Linked DNA regions of Homo sapiens: regions 1, 2, 3 and 4 are each linked to region 5. The links are contacts of gene promoters, found by promoter capture Hi-C in blood cells and fetal thymus (Javierre and others, 2016). All regions are on one chromosome and are shown on one strand. Each heading gives the region's core, a stretch centred on a gene start or on the middle of the fragment in contact. The rest is flanking DNA. Distances are from core to core; before and after follow the strand shown. Region 1 overlaps ZNF143 (zinc finger protein 143). Region 2 has its middle 2.5 kb from the start of ZNF143-AS1. Region 3 overlaps NRIP3-DT (NRIP3 divergent transcript). Region 4 overlaps IPO7 (importin 7). Region 5 holds the start of DENND5A (DENN domain containing 5A).

Region 1 (2,700 bases), core at 191-2,690, 210 kb after region 5:
TTTTTTTTGTTAAATATAGGGTCTTGCTATGTTGCTCAGGCTGGTCCTGAACTCCTGGCCTCAAGCAGTCCTCCTGCTCCGACCTCCCAAAGCAGTGGGGTCACAGACATGAACCACTTTGCCTAACCTATTTCTTCCTCTTAAATGCAATTTTTTGCCTGGGCATGTTGGCTCATGCCTGTAATCCTAGCACTTTGGGAGGCCGATGCAGGCGGATCACCTGAGGTCAGGGGTTTGAGACCAGCCTGGCCATGCAAAACCCTGTCTCTACTAAAAATACAAAAAAATACAAAAATTAGCCAGTTGTGGTAGTGCATGCCTTCAATCCTGGCTACTAGGGAGGCTGAGGCAGGAGAATCGCTTGAACCCAGGAGGTAGAGGTTGCAGTGTAGTTGAGATCGTGCCACTGCACTCCAGCCTGGGCAACAGAGTGAGACCCTGTCTCAAAAAAATATATATGTGTGTGTGTGTGTGTGTGTGTGTGTGTGTGTGTGTGTGTGTGTATAAAATTTTTAAAGCAAGGTCCTTTGCCTACTATGTTTAATTGAAACTAAGTATACAATGTCAAAAATATTTGAAGCAAATACAGCAAAATGTTAATGCTTATTACATTTGTTTAAGGGAAGTTCAGGGGTTTGAGGTGGAATGTCTAGGAATGATGAGTACAGCTCTGCAACCAGACTATGTATATTCAAAGCTACTTTTTTTTTGCTGTGTGACATTAAGCAGATTACTTTTCTGTGCTTTAGTTTCATCATCTGTAAAATGAGGATTATAGTAGGTGTCCATATCATACGTAGGGTTGTTGTGAGGACAGAATGCACAAACATGTAAAGCACTTAGAACCGTGCTTGTCTCATACTAAATGCTCAATAAATGTTACCTATTGTTACTACTTTAGAGAATATTTTATTTTAATTAATTAATTAATTTATTATTTTGAGACAGTCTCGCTCTGTTGCCAGGCTGGAGTGCAGGGACACGATCTTGGCTCACTGCAACCTCCGCCTCCTGGTTTCAAGCGATTCTCCTGCCTCAGCCTCCCAAGTAGCTGAGATTACAGGTGCCCGCCACTACACCCGGCTAATTTTTGTGTTTTAGTAAAGATGGGGTTTCACCATGTTGGTCAGGCTGGTCTCAAACTCCTGACCTCAGGTGATCCGCCCACTTCAGCCTCCCAAAGTGCTGGGATTACAGGCATGAGCCACTGCACCCAGCTAGAGAGCATTTTATTATAGAATGACATAACACGTTTTAGAAAGGCTGTTTTGTTGTGAAGCCAAAGGGAGGAATCTTTTTTTTTTTTTTTTTTTTTTTTTTTTTTTGAGACAGACTCTCGCTCTCTCTCCCAGTCTGGAGTGCAGTGGTGCGATCTCGGCTCACTGCAAGCTCCGCCTCCTGGGTTCACACCATTCTCCTGCCTCAGCCTTCGGAGTAGCTGGGACTACAGGCACCCACCACCATGCCCGGCTAATTTTTTGTATTTTTTTTAGTAGAGGCGGGGTTTCACCGTGTTAGCCAGGATGGTCTCGGTCTCCTGACCTTGTGATCTGCCCTCCTCAGCCTCCCAAACAAAGGGAGGAATCTTTAAAAAATTTAAAATACTTAAATTTATAAATAAATTTCTTTAATTACAGTTGGAAAAAAGTAAAGTCTGCACCCCTTCCTTCCTTCCTTCCTTCCTTCCTTCCTTCCTTCCTTCCTTCCTTCCTTCCTTCCTCCTCTCCCTTCCCTCCTTTCCCTCCTTTCCCTCCCTTCCCTTCCTTCCCTTCCTTCCCTTCCTTCCCTTCCTTCCCTTCCTTCCTTTTCTTTCTTTTCTTTTCAGCAGAGTCTTGCTCTGTCACCAGGCTGGAGTGCAGTGGTGCAATCTCGGCTCACTGCAACCTCCACATCCTGGGTTCAAGCGATTCTCCTGCTTCAGCCTCCCAAGTAGCTGGGACTACAGGTGCGCGCCACCATGCCCAGCTATTTTTTTTGTATTTTTAGTAGAGATGGGATTTCACCATGTTGGCTAGGATGGTCTCAATCTCTTGACCTTGTGATCCGCCTGGCTTGGCCTCCCAAAGTGTTGGGATTACAGGCGTGAGCCACCACAAAAGGCCGCACTTTTTTCTTTATCAATAAGAGTTAGTCACAGGTTCATTGTAACTGGCTAGATTTATTATTTCACTATCTCTATATATATATCGATATAAAATCACTATTTTATATCAATACCAGTATAGATATAGATATATCTTAGTGTGGACATTTAGAGGGGAAAAAACCACCATGGAGGGACTGTGGAGTCATACTGACATGAGTTCAAATCCTGATTTCTCTACATATTGATTTTGACTGTTAATTGTTAGTGTTTTTTCTTTGTTTGTTTTTGTTTTTGGTTTGTTTTTTGAGAGGGACTCTGGCTCTGTCGCCCAGGCTGGAGTGCAGTGGCACGATCTTGGCTCACTGCAACCTCTGCCTCCCAGGTTCAAGTGAGTCTCCTGCCTCAGCCTCCCCAGTAGCTGGGAATACAGGCGCGTGCCACCGTGCCCTGCTAAGTTTTTTGTATTTTTAGTAGAGAGGGTGTTTCACCGTGTTAGCCAGGATGGTCTCAATCTCCTGACCTCGTGATCCGCCCGCCTCGGCCTCCCAGAGTCCTGGGATTATAGGCTTGAGCCACTGCACCCGGCCTGTTAATGTTTTTTAAATTTTCTGATT
Region 2 (2,700 bases), core at 102-2,601, 190 kb after region 5:
ATGGCAACCTCCGCCCCGCAGGATCAAGCTATTATCCTGACTCAGCCTCCCGAGCAGTTGGGATTACAGGCACCCACCACTATGGCCGGCTAATTTTTGTTTTTTGCTTTTTTGAGATGGAGGCTCGCTCTGTCACCCAGGCGGGAGTGCAGTGGTGCGATCTCGGCTCACTGCAACCTCTGCCTTCCAGGTTCAAGGGATTCTCCTGCCTCAGCCTCCTGAGTAGCTGGGACTGTAGGCGCATGCCACCACGCCCAGATAATTTTTTGTATTTTTATTATTTATTTATCTTTTTGTTTGCTTTTTTGGGACAAAGTCTTGCTCTGTTGCCCAGGCTGGAGTGCAACGGCACGATCTCGGCTCACTGCAACCTCCGCCTCCCGGGTTCAAGCGATTCTCCTGCCTCAGCTTCCCAAGTAGCTGGGATTACAGGCACCTGCCACCATGCCCGGCTAATTTTTGCATTTTTAGTAGAGACGGCGTTTCACCATGCTGGCTAGGCTGGTCTCAAACTCCCGACCTCAGGCGATCTGCCCACTTCCGCCTCCCAAAGTGCTGGGATTACAGGCGTGAGCCACTGTGCCCGGCCAATTTTTTGTATTTTTAGTAGAGACGGGTTTTCACCGTGTTAGCCAGGATAGTCTTGATCTCCTGACCTTGTGATCCGCCCGCCTCGTCCTCCCAAAGTGGTGGGATTACAAGTGTGAGCCACCGTGCCCAGCCTAATTTTTGTACTTTTAGTAGAGATGCGATTTCGCCATGTTGGCCTGGTTGGTCTCGAACTCCTGACTTCAGGTGGTCCACCCTCCTCGGCCTCCCAAAGTGCTGGGATTACAGGTGTGAACCACCGCACCCGGCCTTTTTTTTTTTTTAGATGGATTCTCACTCTGTCACCCAGGCTGGAGTGGAGTGGTGTGACCCTGGCTCACTGCAACCTCCGCCTCCGGGGTTCAAGCCATTCTCCTGCCTCAGCCTGCTGAGTAGCTGGGATTACAGGCGCCCACCACCACGCCGGGCTAATTTTTGTATTTTTAGTAGAGACGGGGTTTCACCATGGCTCGAACTCCTGACCTCGTGATCCGCCTGCCTCGGCTTCCCAAAGTGCTAGGATTGCAGGTGTGAGCCACCGCGCCCGGCCTGAAATAATTGCTTTTAAGCTTAACTCATCGTTTATCTTTTTTCTATATATATCATATATAATTTCTATATATATAGTATACATATATATCATATATAATTTCTATATATATATAGTATACATATATACTACTTTAATGCTTATAGCATGGTATAAATATGCCAAAACCAACCAATTCTCCAGTAAGTTTTAAGTTACTGAAAGAAGTGTTTTAGAAAATATTATCTTAACAGTTTTTGAAGGGGGCTACAAATAAGTTACCTCTTGTTTAGGAAGTTGGGGAAATTATTTAATTTCTGCATTTAAGAGCCTGGACTAGTACTGATTGACAGGGAAACATTTTCAAGCCATTAATTTGACCGGATATAACACGATATAAGGGAAGGGAGATGAATGGGATAACATTTTAAGCTTATGAATGGCTCTGAATATATGTACATTTGAACTCTGTTCTATAGTCACTGGTAAATACTGTTAACACAACGTTCCATTACCTGTGACAAATCAGAATTAGGTTTCTCTCTGAATCCAGTTACAATTATAGCATCCTATCCACCGCCACCATCATCGCCATTCAATTTTTAGAACAACTCAGTAGCTTCTGGGGATACAAAGATGTCCTGTAATTGTTATCTACAATAAGAGGGCGATTTAAAAATTCTTGAGATTCTGTATTATAGTGTTTTAATGAGTAGCCTACAGGCATGGGACTTAGTGGAACTGCATAAAAATATTCTGATGGGTTAAAAAACACCTCCAATTACAAAACACAGATACATGTGGAGGGAACAGAAATTATAAATTAAAACCATTTGTTTTTCAGCTGGGCTACTTCTTTGTAACAGAGAATGTATCCATTGGGTAGGAGACTGATTTTAACTGAGCAAAATCCTCCAGTTAAAAGTAACCTAATCCTTTTTTTTTTTTTTTTTTTTTTTTTTTTGAGACGGAATCTTGCTCTGTTGCCCAGCCTGGAGTGCAGTGGCGCAATCTCAGCTCACTGCAAGCTCCGCCTCCCGGGTTCACGCCATTTTCCTGCCTCATTCTCCCGAGTAGCTGGGACTACAGGCGCCCGCCACCACGCCTGCTAAATTTTTTGTATTTTTAGTAGAGACGGGGTTTCACCGCGTTAGCCAGGATGGTCTCGATCTCCTGACCTCATGATCTGCCCGCCTTGGCCTCCCAAAGTGCTGGGATTACAGGCGTGAGCCTCCGCGCCCGGCCACCTAATCCATTTTTTATATGTGACACTTTTATTTTAAGGGCTTAAAAAGTAATCCGGGCCGGGCGCGGTGGCTCACGCCTGTAATCCCAGTACTTTGGTAGGCTGAGGTGGGCGGATTACGCGGTCAGGAGTTTCAGACCAGCCTGGCCAACATGGTGAAACCCCGTCTCTACTAAAAACAGAAAAATTAGCCGGGCGTGATGGTGGGCGCCTGTAGTCCCAGCTACTCAGGAGGTTGAGGCAGGAGAAATCGCTTGAACCTGGGAGGCGGAGGTTGCAGTGAGCTGAGATCGTGCCACTGCATTGCAGTCTGGGCTACAGGGCGAGACTCCGTCTC
Region 3 (2,700 bases), core at 8-2,507, 250 kb before region 5:
AAGTCAATAGTCGCTTGATGGGGAGAGCATTGAATCTATAAATTACTTTGGGCAGTATGGCCATTTTCACAATATTGATTCTTCCTCTTCAAGGACCTCTTCAAGGAGAACTACAAGCCACTGCTCAAGGAAATAAGAGAGGACACAAACAAATGGAGAGTTCTTTATATATTCTAGCTACAAGTCTCTTGTCACACATGACTTGCAAAATTTTTCTCCCATTTTATGAGTTGCCTTTTCACTTTCTTGATGGCTTCCTTTGACTCATAAAAATGTTCAATTTCATTTGCTTCCCTGCAAAACACACACACACACACATGCACACACACACACTTTTTTCTGAACGATTTTAGGATAGATTACTCATACATTATGATCCTGTACCACTAATACTTCATTGTATATTTCCTAAAAATAGAGATTTTTCTCTTATGTAACCACAATACAGATAGAAGCTTGATAAATTTACATTGATACAATACTTTTATCTAAGCTACTATTCATGTTCCAATTTTGTCAGTTGACCATTTATAACACATTCCTCCAGTACAGGATCCAGGCTAGGAGCAGGTATTGTATTTGGTTGTCATGTCTCTTTAGCCTCCTTTAATCTGGAACATTTCCACAGCTTTCTTTGTCCTCCATGACACAGACATTTTTGACATTCAAAATGTTAAAATTCAAAACTGTCAGTGTCATTAAAAAGGGTTAACTGGTTAACACAAAAACCAGTTAACCCTTTTTAGTTACTGGTTTCTGTGTGTGATATAATTCACATACCATAAAATTCACCCAATTCATACAATTGTACTTAATGTGTACAATTCAAGTTTTAAATAAATTCAGAGAGCTGTGCAACCATCACCACAATGACTTCTAGAACATTTCATCGTCCCAAGAGAAACTTGGTACCCATTAATCATTCCCCATTGCCTACCAATTTCTCCAGCCCTAGACAACTAACTTGTAATCCACTTCCTGTCTCTATGAATTTGCCTATTCTGGACATTTCATGTAACTGGAATCATATAATGCATGGTCTTTTGTGACTGGCTTCTTTCACGTAGCACAGTGTTTTCAAAATTCATCCATACTGTAGCATCTATCAGTATTTAACTATGGCCAAATAATATTCCATTGTATGGATCTACCACATTTTGTCTAGCTGTACATTAGTTGATAGATATGTAAGCTGTTTCCACTTTTAAGGTATTACGACTAATGTTGCTAAGAAATCTCATGTGGAAATCTTTTTGTGCCTTTTATTCATCTCCTGGAGTAGAATTGCTGGGTCACATGGTAGCCCGTGTGACTTTTGAGGAATTAACAGACTACTCTCCAAAGCAGCTGCACCATTCTGCATCTCCACCAGCAGTGTATGAGGGTTCCAATTTCTTCACATCCTCTTCAACACTTTTTACCATCTGTCTTTTTTATTATAGCCATGCTAGTGAGGTTGAGATGGTATCTCATTATGGTTCTGATTTGTGTTTCCCTGATGACTAATGATGTTAAGCATCTTTTCAGGTGCTTATTGGTCATTTGTTTGTCTTCTTTGGAAACATGTCTATTAAAATCCTCTGTCCATCTTCTTTTTTTTTTTTTTTTTTTTTGAGACAGAGTCTCGCTCTGTCGCCTAGGCTGGAGTGCAGTGGCGTGACCTCGGCTCACTGCAAGCTCCGCCCCCTGGGTTCACGGCATTCTCCTGCCTCAACCTCCCGAGTAGCTGGGACCACAGGTGCCCACCACCACGCCTGGCTAATTTTTTGTATTTTTAGTAGAGACAGGGTTTCACTGTATTAGCCAGGATGGTCTCAGTCTCCTGATCTCATGATCCACCTGCCTCGGCCTCCCAAAGTGCTGGGATTACAGGTGTGAGCCAACATGCCCAGCCTCCTCTGTCCATTTTTAATTGAGTGATTTGTCTCATTATTATTGACTTGTAAGAACTCTTTACATATTGTAGCTATTAGTCTCTTGTCAGATATATGATTTACAAACATTTTCTACCATTCCATGGGCTACCTTTTCACTTCTTAATAGTGTCTTTTGAAGCACACAAGCTTTAAAATTTCACTGATGTGCAAGTTGTTTTTCAACTTCCCTCCCCTTTTTAAAATAGAGCATTCTTCATTTTGTGTTTGTCTGCATTTTCCTTGTATTGAGATTGAGGTGATGCATTTTTGGCTTGAGTACAGTATAGGTGATGGTACGTTCTTCTCAGGCTATCACATCTGTAGGCACATGATATCCATCTGTCCTTTATTGGACATGCTAATTTTGATCATCTGGTCAAGGTATTGCCTGATTTCTCTGCTGTATAATTACTGGCTTTTTTCCTATCTCATTCATGATGTTTAAAAAAATGAAATTCACTCTTTTCAGTCTGTCTACACTCCGTTAGCACATTGCACTTTGAGTTCTGTACTCTCCCTGGCACATGCTGCACAGTGGTCAGACCCACCTTGGCCAGGCCTGTGTCCTCATGTCTCAAAAAGGGGCTTTGTTTCAATGACCACAGGTTTCATGCAAATTATTCACACCTTGCCACAGTGAGTGTCTTCATTGACCTTGCCTGCCTAGAGACCTGAGTACTGCCTTCTTGGACTCTGAAGTTGGATGTTGCCATGCTGGAAACATCGAATAGAAATAGGCAGTTCTGGAAAACATGTGCTTCTGGGCTCAGCAAGGAGATGTACT
Region 4 (2,700 bases), core at 171-2,670, 160 kb after region 5:
TAATAAATAAAAATGAAAGCTATTAGGAGGAATTCATGGATTAACATTTAATTTTCACAGGCCAGGTGCGGTGGCTAAGGCCTGTAAATCCCAACGTGTTGGGAGGCCGAGGCAGGCAGATCGTTTGAGGTCAGGAGTTTGAGACCAGCCTGACCAATATAGTGAAACCCCATCTCTACTAAAAATACAAAAATTAGCCGGGCGTGGTGGCAGGCACCTGTAAACCAGCTACTTGGGAGGCTGAGGCAGGAGAATTGCTTGAACCTGGGAGATGGAGGTTACAATGAGCCGAGATCGCCCACTGCACTCCAGCCTGAGTGACAGAGCGAGACTCCATCTCAAAACAAACAAAAGCATTCAATTTGTACAGAAAAGACATTGAATTCTGCTTTTGCAAAATTATAAAGGGATCTGGGATCATTTTCATACCTTATGTAAAGATTAAGCATGTTTTTTAATGCTTTGTTGAAGAAATTAATGTTTATTGTCTTAATTTTAAACTTGTTCTCTAGATGTGTTTGAAGATTTCATTTCTCCTACCACTGCTGCCCAGACACTTTTGTTTACAGCCTGTAGTAAGAGGAAAGAGGTAGGCTTATTTAATGTTTAGATAACTTTTCTGTATTATTTAAAATTTATTCAACTATACACTTTTTAAATGTTAGTCATGTGAGTCATTTTGTTAGTATGTTTTTTAAGGACTGTTGGCCTATTCAGTAACAATACTTTTCTCTTTTAATCTAGGTACTGCAAAAGACTATGGGATTTTGTTACCAGATTCTTACAGAACCAAATGCTGACCCTCGAAAAAAAGATGGAGCCCTGCATATGATTGGCTCTTTAGCTGAAATACTTCTGAAGGTATTCTTTAGTGTGTTTGTATGTGCATGACTATGCAAGTAGTTTTAAAAAATAAATAGCCAGCCAGGCACAGTGGCTCACTTCTATAATCCCAGCACTTTCGGGATGCTGAGGCAGGCAGATTGCCTGAGCCCAGGAGTTTGAGAACAGCCTGGGCAACATAGTGATACCCCCATCTCTATAAGGATAAAAAATAGGCCGGGTGTGGTGGCTTATGCCTGTAATCCCAGCTATTTGGGAGGCCAGGGCGGGGGGATCACCTGAGGTCAGCAGTTGAAGACCAGCCTGGCCAACATGGTGAAACCCCGTCTCTACTAAAAATACAAAAATCCGCCGGGCGTGATGGCTCACGCCTGTAATCCCAGCATTTTGGGAGACCGAGGTGGGTGGATCATGAGGTCAGGAGATCGAGACCATCCTGGCTAACACAGTGAAACCCCGTCTCTACTAAAAATAAAAATAAAAAATTAGCCGGGCATGGTGGCTGGCGCCTGTAGTCCCAGCTACTCAGGAGGCTGAGGCAGGAGAATGGCTTGAACCCGGGACGTGGAGTTTGCAGTGAGCCGAGATCACGCCACTGCAATCCAGCCTGGGCGACAGAGTGAGACTCTGTCTCCAAAAAAAAAAAAAAAAATCAGCTGGGCATGGTGGTGGGCACCTGTAATCCCAGCTACTTAGGAGGCTGAGGCAGGAGAATCACTTGAACTTGGGAGGCGGAGGCTGCAGTGAGCCGAGGTCATGCCACTGCACTCCATGCTCCAGTCCAGGCGACAGAGACTCCGTCTCAAAAAAAAATAAAAAAATAAAAAATAACAACCTTATGGAGTGTACAACTCAGTGGTTTTTAGTTTATTCACAGTTGTATAACTATCACCCCCAGAAGGAACTCTGTATACATTAGCAGTCACTCCACATATCACCCCAAATCTCCCAACCCTAGGCTACCTATAGTCCACATTTTTTCTATGGATTTGTTTATTGTGGACATTTTATATAAATGGAATCATATAATACGTAGCTCTTTGTGGGTGACTTCTTTCATTTAGTGTAATGTTTTCAAGGATTATCTGTGTTATAGCAGGTTTCAGTACTTTTTCCTTTTTGTTGCCAAATTATATTTCATTATATTAATATACCACATTTTATTTACTCATTCATTAGTTGTTTCTACTTTCTGGCTGCTTACAAATGTTGCTGTGAACATTCATGTTTAAATTTTTATGTGGACATACGTTTTCATTTTTCATGGGTATATACCTAGGAGTATGAATTGCTTGTCATAATTTGAGACACCGCAGAACCCATTTTCCAACGTAGCTATACCATTTTATATTTCTGCCAGCAGTATATTTTGATTATAGCCATCCTAGTGAACGTGAAGCATTATGTCTTTGTGGCTTTGAAATTTTTCATGTGCTTACTATCCGTTTGTATATTTTCTTTAGAGAATATCTATTCAAATTCCTTGCCCCAAAAAAATTGCTTGCCTTTGTTTTTTTTCTTTTTATTTTTTGAGATGGAGTCTTGCTCTGTCACCCAGGCTGGAGTGCAGTGGTGAGATCTTGGCTCGCTGCAGCCACCAGTCTCCCACATTAAAGTGATTCTCCTGCCTCAGCCTCCCAAGTAGCTGAGATTTCCGCCTCCCCGCCCCCCCGCCATATGCTGGAGTGCAGTGGCGCAATCTCGACTCACTGCAACCTCTACCTTCCGGGTTCAAGTGATTCTCATGCCTCAGGTGCCTGCCCCCAGCCTAATTTTTGTATTTTTAGTAGAGATGGGGTTTTGCCATGTTGGCCAGGCTGGTCTCAAACTCCTGGCTTCAGGTGATCCGCCTGCCTC
Region 5 (2,700 bases), core at 121-2,620:
TGACAGAAAAGTGAAAAGGAGTCCCCCTCATCAGGATGACACAACCTTAAAGTACAACCCGACAAACCTCCACCCACTTGAAACCCACTAACTGGAAACTCCAGACAAAAACTTATTTTCAAAACTGTTACAATTCAAAGACTCCAATGACAGTGCAGTGGAAAATTCACGGGGACTGTATAATTTTCACGGCCTTCTGCAGTGAGTGCCAAATCTGGTCAGGGCCCCATCTTTGACTCCCCTCATCACTTTCCCTTTCAAATATGACTTGAAACGCATCAGAACACACCAAGCCTCTCCAACTACAATGCTGCTACCCTTTTATTCACAAACGCCTCTGTCCTCATAAAGGACATAAATTACTTTTCAAAAAAGGCATGGCCCCGGGATACAAGCCCTTTCCAAGGCTAAGGGAGTTCCTACTCTTCTTGGTGCCGCCCAAGTTCACTTTATTACTTCATATCCCATCCAGACGCGCAGAGCTGCAATCTGACTCAGGGGGCCCAGCCCAGGGCTGGGGTATAACGGTTTTGAGGAACTAGTATCACAAGCTTCTTGGGAAGTGGCCAGATAAACTCACCAAGTTTTTGTTTTCCTTTTTTTTAAGTCTGGGTGGAACTTACTTTCACTAGGACGTGGGACGCCTTCCCTCCCTAATGGGTGCCAGAGGACAAGCTTTCCTTTATTTTAAACGAAGTCACTCAACCTACACCAAACTGAGAACACACAACCCTCCCTCTTTCTGGTCGCCGAAGACGTGGCCACTGCGCAGCGGGCCGTAGGTTTGGACCCCTCATGGCTCAGAGCCCCTCATCCGTTTCCCCCCTCCAGTCCAAAGCCCCCTTCGCCCGCGCCCGCCCTGGTCCTCCCGGCCGACACTCGCCCGGCTCCCGGGACAAAGCGGGGCTGAAGGAAGGTTTCTTCTGGGGTCCCCGACGACAGCGGGCGCGGGAAAGCGCCCCGGGCTCGGCGCGCACTCACCCGACAGCTCGTCCGGCTCCAGCCCGGTCTCCGTGTCCAGTCCGCAGATGACAAAGTAGTCGGCGAAGCGACTGGGCGCCGAGCCCCCTCCGCCGCCGCCGCCACTCATGGCGCCGGGGCCGAGACCGGCCGGGCAGTGCGGAGCGGCACCGAGCCCCCGCAACCCGGGCGCCCGCCCGTCCGCCCTCAGGCCGCCCCTCCCGCCGCCGCCGCTACCGCGGCTCGGGCCGCCGCCCCCGGCCCTGGCCCGGTCCCCTCGGCCGCCGCGGCTGCCGTGACGGGGCGGGGGGGCACCGGGCCGCCCCGCACCGCATCCTGGATGCCTTCCCCTCCGCGCCGCCGCCGCTGCAGCTAGCCGAGAGCGCCGCGGCCCGAGCGAGCCTGGAGAAGGGCGGAGAGCGCGTGGACAGCCCCCACCGTGACCCTCCTCCTACCGCGCCTGCGCAGGCGCCGTCTGGGAGGGGGCGGGCTCCTGGGGGAAAGGATGACGTGATGCTCTTCGGACCCCGCCGGCCGCAGCTTCCCGGGAGGTCGCCGCAGCGCAGCCGGTGACTGCTTGGTCGCCCGCAACTGCCACTCCCCCGGGATTGAGACTCCTTTAGGGAGGGCTGAGGAGGTGCGAGAAGAGTGGGCGCAGCCTGCAGAGCCGGGCATTTGGCCCATGCTCTGCCCCCAACCACCCACCCAGCAAGCAGAGGTCCAGAGATCTTAGCGCGGCCTTGCCATGAGGATGGGGTCTCACGACTGAGCTCGGAAGCTCACCTAATCCTAGCTGCAGCGTGTCAGCCTAGACCCCAGACAGGGCCTTCTCCCTGTCCTCTCTTTTGGCAGGGGCGGATGAGCCGGTTTTATATTTACCCTTATTTTACAGACGGGGAAACTGAGTCTCAGAAAGAAGCAAGGACTTATCCAAGGTTACGCTGAGTCTAAGAGACATAAGCCTGGTCTGGAATCCTGGGCTTGTGGTCAGCTCCCCGTTCCTCGCCGCTCCCACCTCCCAGCCTGCCCTTTTCCCACGCTCTCTCCTTTTTTCTCTGGAAGCCTCCAGAGGCGCCTGCCATTTGGGAGCTCCTCTTCCTCTTCACTCTGTGAAAACTCTCAGATCCACCCCTAAACCTGTTTTCCTGTAAGAGGATAGGGAGGAGGCGAAGGGAAACTTACCTATTGGTCCTTGTCCTAGGACCCTCCGATTTCCTTTCCCATAGAAGCTAGGCAGATGTGTCTTTGTTGGAAACTGGAGATCAGAGGCCAGAAAGGCAACACAGGTATAGTGGTCACTAGCATGGGCTCTAGAAAAAAATGCTCGGATTTCAATCCTGACGATCATTTACTTTTGACCTTGAGCAAGTTAATCTCTAAGTGCCTGGCGTCATGGTTTTTGAGACAATTACATAAGGTAAATGCAAGTACAGGTAAAACAATGAGAATACTGCCTGGAACATGGAAATCACTCAGTAAATATTACAGATTTTTTTTTTCAAGACGGAGTTCTGTCTTGTTGCCCAGGCTGGAGTGCAATGGCGTAATCTCGGCTCACTGCACCTCTGCCTCCCAGGTTCAAGTGATTCTCCTGCCTCAGCCACCCAAGTAGCTAGGATTACAGGCGCGCACCACCACACTCGGCTAATTTTTTGTATTCAGTAGAGACAGGGATTCACCGTGTTGGTCAGGCTGGTCTCGAACTCCTGACCTCAGGTGATCCGCCCTCCTCTGCCTCCT

What was found. The method cuts DNA at HindIII sites, captures the fragments that hold promoters and counts their contacts. A CHiCAGO score of 5 or more calls a contact.
Region 1: a contact is called between a fragment that was not itself captured here and the fragment with the promoter of DENND5A in region 5, in 6 of 17 cell types (megakaryocytes, naive CD4 T cells, M2 macrophages and 3 more). The highest score is 7.8, in megakaryocytes.
Region 2: a contact is called between a fragment that was not itself captured here and the fragment with the promoter of DENND5A in region 5, in 7 of 17 cell types (megakaryocytes, M2 macrophages, activated CD4 T cells and 4 more). The highest score is 7.3, in megakaryocytes.
Region 3: a fragment that was not itself captured here is called in contact with the fragment with the promoter of DENND5A in region 5 in 1 of 17 cell types (endothelial precursors); the score reaches 5.4 in endothelial precursors.
Region 4: a contact is called between a fragment that was not itself captured here and the fragment with the promoter of DENND5A in region 5, in 4 of 17 cell types (megakaryocytes, M2 macrophages, activated CD4 T cells and 1 more). The highest score is 7.5, in megakaryocytes.

The regions. Positions count from the first base shown.
Region 1 is chr11:9,475,453-9,478,152 of GRCh38, forward strand. All of the region lies in intron 5 of ZNF143 (zinc finger protein 143), which reads left to right. Among named protein-coding and RNA genes, the nearest start is that of ZNF143, 16 kb to the left of the region's middle. The HindIII fragment of the contact is 4,989 bases long and covers 1-2,700 here.
Region 2 is chr11:9,456,818-9,459,517 of GRCh38, forward strand. No RefSeq gene overlaps it. Among named protein-coding and RNA genes, the nearest start is that of ZNF143-AS1, 2.5 kb to the right of the region's middle. RefSeq lists an enhancer at 2,564-2,700. The HindIII fragment of the contact is 392 bases long and covers 1,156-1,547 here.
Region 3 is chr11:9,010,926-9,013,625 of GRCh38, forward strand. All of the region lies in intron 1 of NRIP3-DT (NRIP3 divergent transcript), which reads left to right. Among named protein-coding and RNA genes, the nearest start is that of NRIP3-DT, 8.2 kb to the left of the region's middle. The HindIII fragment of the contact is 1,608 bases long and covers 454-2,061 here.
Region 4 is chr11:9,424,402-9,427,101 of GRCh38, forward strand. It overlaps IPO7 (importin 7), which reads left to right. Exons shown (of 25, transcript NM_006391.3): 11 at 513-589; 12 at 745-861. Among named protein-coding and RNA genes, the nearest start is that of SNORA23, 3.0 kb to the right of the region's middle. The HindIII fragment of the contact is 4,305 bases long and covers 1-2,700 here.
Region 5 is chr11:9,263,980-9,266,679 of GRCh38, forward strand. It overlaps DENND5A (DENN domain containing 5A), which reads right to left and starts at 1,371. Exons shown (of 23, transcript NM_015213.4): 1 at 982-1,371. The coding sequence starts at 1,090. RefSeq lists enhancers at 1-242, 403-522, 1,603-1,672 and silencers at 813-1,172, 1,223-1,322. The HindIII fragment of the contact is 8,855 bases long and covers 674-2,700 here.